2 separate regions of the Homo sapiens genome follow, and region 2 is linked to region 1. Evidence: promoter capture Hi-C in 16 types of primary human blood cells and fetal thymus (Javierre and others, 2016). All regions are on one chromosome and are shown on one strand. The core of a region is centred on a gene start or on the middle of the fragment in contact, and the rest is flanking DNA. Distances in the headings are between cores, read along the strand shown.

What was found. Contacts are between HindIII fragments. The CHiCAGO score rates a contact against its expected background, and 5 or more counts as called.
Region 2: a contact is called between a fragment that was not itself captured here and the fragment with the promoter of SYNGR1 in region 1, in 1 of 17 cell types (total B cells). The highest score is 5.2, in total B cells.

What each region holds. Positions count from the first base shown.
Region 1 is chr22:39,347,984-39,351,258 of GRCh38, reverse strand. It overlaps SYNGR1 (synaptogyrin 1), which reads right to left and starts at 1,268. Exons shown (of 4, transcript NM_004711.5): 1 at 1,150-1,268. The coding sequence starts at 1,248. RefSeq lists a silencer at 1,062-1,221. The HindIII fragment of the contact is 7,483 bases long and covers 1-3,275 here.
Region 2 is chr22:40,023,702-40,029,008 of GRCh38, reverse strand. All of the region lies in intron 4 of FAM83F (family with sequence similarity 83 member F), which reads right to left. Among named protein-coding and RNA genes, the nearest start is that of TNRC6B-DT, 18 kb to the left of the region's middle. RefSeq lists an enhancer at 3,840-3,909. The HindIII fragment of the contact is 6,298 bases long and covers 1-5,307 here.

The DNA of each region.
Region 1 (3,275 bases), core at 19-2,518:
CACAGCTGGCCTTGGGGTAGCCCCTGGGGTCCCTGACAGTCTAGCCCATTCCTAGTCTAAGCCCACAAGGAACGGGCCCCAGGCCTGCAGAGGCCAGAACCTCGAGTGGGAGTTTCTGGGATACAGCCAGCCAAACCCAGGGAGCCCCAGAAACCCCCTCTCCAGACCCCAGCAGGGCTTCTTTCCATGAGGTGCCACTCAAGGCACCTGAACCCCTCCCTCTGTGCTCACTGTCTCTGACCCATCCTCTCCCTGACCACCCGTCTGAACAAGAGCCCACTCAGCCCTCTGCACTGAGGACCCTGCCCCCCAGCTAGGCTGGAGGCCACCCTGGCCTCTTCACTGTGGGAGCAGACCTTTCTCCCAGACACCCGCCTTGGGCATCCAGGTGCATGCTGAGTGGGAGGGGTGTTACCGGTTCATGAAATGTCAGAGCCCAAGGGGGCCTCAAGAAGGCTCCGCCCACCTTGTCTATAAATTGGGAAACTGAGGCATGAGAGAGGAGATGACACTCCCCACCTCGGAATTGAAGTCCTCATTTCTCGAGAACATTTCCTGGGTGGCTCCCAGCCCAAGGTCACGCAGAGAAGGAGAGGCAGTTCCCGGGTGGAAGAGAGGTACTCAGTTCCCGACTCATCGCTCCACACGGGCCGGGCTAGGCAATACGAACCCGGTTCCCGGCCCTCTCCTCCTCCAACGTCCATCGCAGGCGCGGCATGCACCCCACCGAGATGGTCCACGCCCTGATCCACCCCCCAAAAAAGGCCACCTTAAACCCTGGCTCCGTCCCCACGGTCCCCAGTCCGCCCTGGCGGCCGCGCACAATCCGAGCCTTTCGCGGCATAGCCGCGGCCTGGAGGTCACAGCAATCGGGGCGGGAAGGGGGGCGCACGAACCGGGGGCCCCAGGAAACCAGGGCTCCGGGAGCCGGAGCGGCGTCTCCCGCGAGCACCAGGGATCCCGCCCGCCCCGGGCCCGGGAAGGAGGAGCGGCGGCAGCGGGCCCCGCAGGCAGGACAGCTCCTCGCCCGCCGCCGCGCCGCCGCCGGGGGCCCGTTGGGGTCGGGGTCGGGGTCGGTCCGGGCGCGCCGCCTTTGCTCACACCCCCACCACCCCGGCCTGGCAGAGCCGTCGGCCAGTCCGTCCTTACCCAAGACACGACGCGCAGGATGGTGTGCGGCTGCCGGACCAGGGTGTAGGGGTCGAAGGCGCCCCCGGCTTTGCCCGCTCCGTACGCACCCCCTTCCATCGTGGCTGCACCCGCGCGGTGCCCCCCGCTCGGCGCGCGCCGCCGGCCCGTGCGCGTGCGCGGCGCCCCCGCCCCCTCCCCTGCGCGCGCGGCCGGCGGCCCAGGGCTCCCGCGAGGGGGCGTCGTGCGCGGCGGGCGCAGCTCGCGGGGCGCGGGCGGGGGGCTGGGCAGCGCGCGACCTCGGGCGCGGGGGCGCGCGTGCTGCGGCCCGGGGCTCAGGGCGCGCTCGCAGCCAGTGCGGTGACCTCTTTGCAAAGTGTTTGGGGGAGGGCGGTGCGTGCACAGCAAGTGTGGGCCGTGTCCCTGCCCCGCATCCCCGGTCCCCTGCCCCGGTCGCAGCCCCTCTGAGCCGTCGGCTCTGCTGAAACCATCTTCACGCTTGATTTGTTTGGCTGTTTCCTGCCACTTTGTCGGCCCCAAATATAATGAGAGGGCAGGAGCTGTGTTCGTCCTTCTTAGAGGGTGCTTGGTACGCAGTAGGCGCCGCATGAATATTTCTCGAATGAATGAACCACGAGTGAATGACCCTCTCTTACAGCCCTCCAGAGCAGCCCCCACCTCCCAGGACCACCCTTCCCCTGCCTCTTACGATGACGTCATGTGTGTCCCTGTGCCCGCGCACCCTCCCACCCCCAGCCTGGAGGGGCCTGGCACAGAGGCGGCGGCTGAGACTTCCTCTTCCCCATCCCCTCCTACCCCAGAACGTTGCCCCTTTCCTGAATCTAGCAATTAATTACGCAATCATTTGTTCATGGCCTCTTCTGCTGCTAGTCTGTGAGCTCCCGAGGCCCAGGTGTTGTCTAACTTATTCAATGCCTTACCCAAGGGCCTAGCATACAGTAGGTGCTCAGTAAACAGAGCCTAGTCCCCATCACCCCATCACAGCTTGGGCTAGACCTCCAGGTTTCATGGAAACGGAGGCTAGATGGAGGAGTGCTCCCTGCAGGGGAAGGGCCACCTTCCAGGGCTGGCTCTCCTGCTGCCCTGTAGCTCTATGGCCTCTCTATGTCTGCAGTCACCTTCACTGGTTCCAGGAGCAGGTTGGATGAGGATATGGGTGGAGGCTTTTGCTTCTCTGGTATCCTGCCATTCTGTGATGACAGGACACAACATCTGTGTGGAGGAAATGTGTGCTGGGCCTGAGGGTGCTCCTTATAAAAATTACATAGTCAATGTCCATCTTAGGCTCAGCTGATTGTTTAGTCTCTACCAGGCCTTGTGCTAAGGGCTTTACATACATTTTCACATTTAATCCAGCACACTTATAAGGTGTCTACTATGACTATATAAAACTTTTAGAAGAAAGCACAAGAGAAGGCCGGGCGCAGTGGTTCACGCCTGTAATCCCAGCACCTTGGGAGGCCAAGGTGGATGGATCACAAGGTCAAGTGATTGAGACCATCCTGGCCAACATGGTGAACCCGGTCTCTACTAAAAATACAAAAATTAGCCGGGCGTGGTGGCGAGCTCCTGTAGTCCCAGCTACTTGGGAGGCTGAGGCAGGAGAATCACTTGAACCCAGGAGGTGGAGGTTGCAGTGAGCCGAGATCGCGCCACAGCACTCCAGCCTGGCAACAGAGCGAGACTCCGTCTCAAAAAAAAAAAAAAAAAAAAAAAATCATGAAGAACATGATTCATAAAAGAAACAATTGATAAACTGGACTTTATCAAAATTAAGAACTTCTGTTCTTTAAAAGACATTGTTAAAAGAATGTATGAAAAGACAAACGATAGTCTGGGAGAAAATATTTGCAAAGCATAGATCTAAAGAACTTGCATCCCAAATAAAGAACGTTCGAACTCAATAATAATAAGAGGACCCACTTTTTAAAAAATGGGCAAAAGATTTGAATAGTTATACACCTCACCAAAGAAGATATACACACGGCAACTCAGCACATAAAAAGATGCCCAGCATCCGCGGTGGCTCACGCCTATAATCCCAGCACTTTGGGAGGCCGAGACGGGCAGATCATGAGGTCAGGAGATTGAGACCATCCTGGCTAACACGGTGAAACCTCATCTCT
Region 2 (5,307 bases), core at 1,087-3,586, 680 kb before region 1:
TTCTCTCTGGTTCCCCTCCCGGGCTGCCGCATTCTACCGCTGAGGTGCCCACAGCTCCCAGAGCCAGCCAGCGACAGTGCCAGAACCTGGCCTTCCCGGTCCAGTTCCAGCTCCTTCCGCCACAGGCCGCCTAGGCTGGAAGAAGGAAAGCTGGCGCCTCAGGAAAGGCTGGCGCTGGCCAAGAGCTGCCACCGTGGGGTGGATCACACTGCTTAGGACGCGCCTTTGAAGGGAGGACAGAGAGGAACGCGCTGCCTGTAGGGAGGGAAGGGGGAGAGAAAGCTGTCCCCCGCCCCCGGCCAGAGAAGCTGATTTCTCTTCTTCCCCAGGCCTCTACCATTCCTTCCCACTCTCTTTACAGTCCTGAGATGAGGCCTGCGGTTCCTTTGGCTGGATTCCTGCTCTCGGACCTCCGGAGGGAGTGCAGGGGAGTAGCGAGGCAGGCCTGACACCTGCAGGCCTGCGAGGTGTCAGGCGCTGGAGCGGGGAGCCCATGTCCTCGGAGCGCTGGCTGCCTTTCCCCAGGTGGAAGGCGCTCGTGTTATTTCCTGCCAGTTCCCCTCCACACAGCAAGGGCTGCCTCTCTGGTGCTCACACAACCTTCCAGTATCACTTCAGCTGTGAATTTAATTAAGGCCATGTCTGCCTCCTCTCCTGGGCCATGAGCAGGACCCACTGAACAGAGCCCAACTTGGAGCCCTGCCCTGCCACACAGGCTGCTGCTCCTGCCCACTGCACTGTGACCCACGGCCTCGGGCCTCATCCATCCAGGCAGACTGAACGAGCTCTTCAGGACTGACCACAAATCCAGCTGCACCCTCATTAAGGGTGTTCCCCCACCTTTGGGCAGGAGGCTGCGCCCCAAGGGCTCCATGGCCAAGGCGCTGGGGGTCACTTTCCGCAGTGGTGCCGAGCACGTCTGGGGCGGCTCTGCTAGTGGGATGAAATGCGGCCATCTTAGAGTCACTCACTGCTGCAATGGACACATTCGTCCCCATTTCCCCCCATCAGCTGGTTTGATTTGCGTGGCCCACTAAGCAGATGTCAGTTCCTCCCCAGAGGCAGCAGCATTTTGGAGGCAGGTAAGCAAATCAACCTCCAGATCGTTAAACAGGGGAGGCGGTGTAGCTGGGGGTGGGATGGTGGTGGGTGGTGGTGGGGGTAGCTGCTTCCCAAGCCTGCACACCACCCGGCTGGCTGCCTCCGGGAGAAGCCTGGCAAGGCAGGGGCAGGGCCCATCTTCACCAGCACCATGCTCCCCACTTTTTTGTAAGGCAGGGTGAAAGCCTGGAGACAGCACCTAGACTCAGAATTCATTTCCTAGCCCCGGACAGGACAGAGAAACTGGCTTGGCTTGAGGACAAACTCTGTGTCCCTTGTCATTCCCTGAGTGCTCACATATTGGGAGCTGACCACGTGTGGGGAGTCAGCCCTGCTCAGGTGAACAGGGAAGGTGTATAAATGACCAGAATAGTCTTTTTTACAAAGTATGCGTGGCCTGGGAGCTTCAGAGGTGACGCCAAGGTGGAGCTGAAAACGGGTGCAGGGTGGGAGGAGGGGCCGCTCAGCGGAGCGGAGCCATGTGACATAAGCATGGGGTGAGGGTGGCAGCCTGGGGCACTCGGGACCTGCAGTCAGTCTGGTTTGCTGGCAGGTGAGGTGGTGCGGGAGAGAGGGAGGCAGAGGTCACCCACATGGAAGCCATGACAAGGACAATGATGTGCAAACCGCATGCACAGGCTCCAGGGCTTCGCATTCCCTGTATCTGGAAGAATCTTCCCTCAGATGTCCACAGGGCCCTCTCCTTCCATTGAAGTCTTGCTCCGAGGCTCCTTGGTTAGAGAGGCCTTCCCTGGCACCCTTTATAGAAGGGTCATCCTCCCCTAATCCTCGTCTCTCCCCAGGGTAACATGCTCCATAAAAGCAAGGACCATGTTCATTCTGTTCACAGCTGTGCCAGGAACTTAGAGCAGGGCCTGGCACAGAGCAGACACTTCGTAGACACATATTTATTGAATAAAATGCATGAGACAGCAACGGCGAGCTACTTAGGGGTTTAGCACAATCCTAGTAACAACAGTAATAACAGCAGCAGATGCCCCAGACGCAGCAAGAGCAAGAGAGAGATCTGAGACCTGCGGCCCCAAGGGATGACACAGGAGAACAAGTCCCCCAATCCAGCGGCCCAGCAGCCACAGCTCTACAGAGCCAGACCACACTGCCAGCCAGGGGGCCAACCACACATAAATCCAGGGACCCCAGGAGAGTTCTGGAAAGGGACTGTCACTGCAGGTCACCTCAGAGAAACTGGGAAGCAAAGCACAGGCCCAGGGACTCTGGGGCAGGAAAGGACCCCGAGGCACTCTGGGAAGCAAGTTGCTGCTGTCATCTTCCTCTCGGCCCCCACAACACCGTGGGAAAGGGCTGGTCCTCTATTTGGGGCTCTGGTTCTTCCGAACAGTTTTTTGTTTTGTTTTGTTTTGTTTTTTGAGACAGATTCCTACTGTGTCACCCAGGCTGGAGTGCAGTGGTGTGATCTCCACTCACTGCAACCTCCACCTCCCGGGTTCAAGAGATTCTCCTGTTTCAGCCTCCCGAGTAGCTGGGACTACAGGCAAGTGCCACCATGCCTGGCTAATTTTTTGTATTTTTAGTAGAGACAGGATTTCACCGTGTTAGCCAGGATGATCTCGATCTCCTGACCTCATGATCTGCCCACCTAGGCCTCCAAAAGTGCTGGGATTACAGGCATGAGCCACCACGCCGGGCCCAAACAGTCTTTAAAGGTGCAGGGAAACGGTGCCGATCCTAGCCTTCTGGAGATGGCCATGATATCTGCAGAAGGCTGGGGAGGCAGGAGATCACACTGCCCTTTCTCCCTGGGCAGCCACGGACACAGGGCCTGGCCTCTCTGAACCTTGGGGGTCTCATTGTGAGATGCTGTCATCAGGCAGGATGGCAGCGAGGAGGACGCCAGTTCCATGTGATGGAGTATGGCACCATGTCTCTCGCCACTTCAAAAGTGTTGGCCATTTCCCAGTCATCTCCCTGGGGGAACTGGGTGGGGTCTCAGGCACAGCACAGGGATCTCCTCCCCTAGGCTGGCAGCACTCAAAGGGCAGGGCCTCATCTGTGTTTCCTCAGTCGCCACGGAGTCGGCTGGTCTGAGGACCCTCTGCACTGGGGAGCTACACTGGAAAATGAGGGCCCTAATTTAAAATGCAGATTCCTAAGCCCTGCCCAGTGGTACAGACTCTATTTGTTGGATTTTATTTTTATCTTTAAAAATTCTATTATTATTATTTTGAGATGGAGTCTCGCTCTGTCACCCAGGCTGGTGTGATCTCAGCTCACTGCAGCCTCTGCCTCCTGGGTTCAAGTGATTCTCCTGCTTCAGCCTCCCAAGTAGCTGGGATTATAGGCACCTCCCACCATGCCCAGCTAATTTTTGTATTTTCAGTAGAGACAGGGTTTCACCATGTTGGCCAGGCTGGTCTCGAACTCCTGACCTCAGGTGATCCACCTGCCTCGGCCTCTCCAAGCGTATTTGTTGCATTTTAAAATTTGTATTTACTTTTGCTTTTATTTTTTTGAGACAGGGTCTCTCTGTCGTCCAGACTGGAGTGCAGTGGCACAATCACAGCTGACTGCAGCCTCGACTTCCCAGGCTCAAGTGATCCTCCTGCCTCCACCTCCCAAGTAGCTGGGACTACAGGCACACGGCACTACCCCCAGCTAATTAAATTTTTTTTTAAGAGATGGGGACTTGCTATGTTGCCCAGGCTAGTCTGGAACTCCTGGGCTCAAGGGATCTTCCCAGCTCAGCCTCCCAAAGCACTGGGATTACAGGCATGAGCCACCGCGCCTGGCCTCGTTGCATGTTTACCAAGGCTCTCCACTGAGGCTGCTCTGTGAGTTTGGGGGTCCCTGACCCAGGGAGCCTGTGCGGAGGGCACAGAAGCTCCAGAATAAGGGATGAACACTCCCAGCAGGAGGCGAGGGCGGAGGGAAGACGTAGAAGAGGCGCCTAGCTTCTGCCACTAGAGTGCGCCGTGAGCCTTGAAACCGCTGGGCACCCCTGGCCCCCAGCTGGATCCCCAGCCGGAAAGGAGGAAGCAACTTCCCTAAGGTTCTCCCAAGGGCCACACCTGGGTTTGCAAAAATTTGCATGCTGTTTGACAACTATATACTCCTTATCAAGCAATTTTACAGGCTGTCAGCTCTGAGCTTTTTCTATTTTTTCTCTTATGACAGAAACTGTCATCAACTCAGGTTCTCCCTTGACAAGAGGGCAGCAGAGACAGAAAGAACAGAGGCAGAATCTGAACTCCAGGGGACCTCGGAAACCCTCAATGGTGCACTCCCCCACCTTCTAGATGAGAACACAGCCCCAGGGAGGGGACGGATGTGTCCTGGGTACAGGGAGCAATGTGTCCCGAATTGAGAGCCAGGTGGCAGCTGCTCTGGGAGGTTCTGAACATTTACCAGGGGAAGGGGACACTTTCCCTGCATGGGGGCCCAAAGGCAGGAGCTCAGGTTCTCACTGATTCCCACGGTGGGTGCCCCATGCTGTCAGGGGCCCACCTTCTCACACATGCAGTCCTGGCTGCTTAGCTGCTGCTGCCTGAGGGGAGACACTGAAGCAGCCCCACTTGGCCATGGTGTGGGAAGCTGGAGGCCGTGAAAAAGGGCCTCTTAGGAGAGGAGCTCCTGGCCAGGCGCGGTGGCTTGTGCCTATAATCCCAGCGCTTTGGGAGGCCCAGAGGTAGGAGGATCACTTGAGGCCAGGAGACCAGCCTGGGCAACATGATGAGACCCTGTCTATACAAACAATTTAAAAAATTAGCCAGGCATGGTGGCACACACCTGTGAGCCCAGCTACTCAGGAGGCTGAGGTGGGAGAATCGCTTGAACCGAGGAGGTTGAGGTTGCAATGAGCTGTGGTCGCACCACTGCACTCCAGCGAGACATTGTCTTAAAAACAAACAAAACCAGCAAAAGACAGGAGAGGAGCTGCTGCTTCTCCCTCAGGCCTTGGGAGGGAGAGGAAAGGTGCGTGAATTTCAGGACTGCAGGTACTGGGCGCCCACCCAGGTGGGCAGAAGCCTTACCGGAGGAGGCTGCTCTGTGTTCGTCTAAAGGACGGACAAGGAACGGGATGATGGTTCCGGGCATCCCCGGACCTTCCTGGCTGTCCGTGCCCTCGCCCTCACTATTCCCTCTCTCTCTCTATCCCAGCATCAGGTGCCCTGGAGAGGAGCTTCCCAAGGGTACCGTCTGTGTCTGCAAGGCTGGCTCCTGGGCACC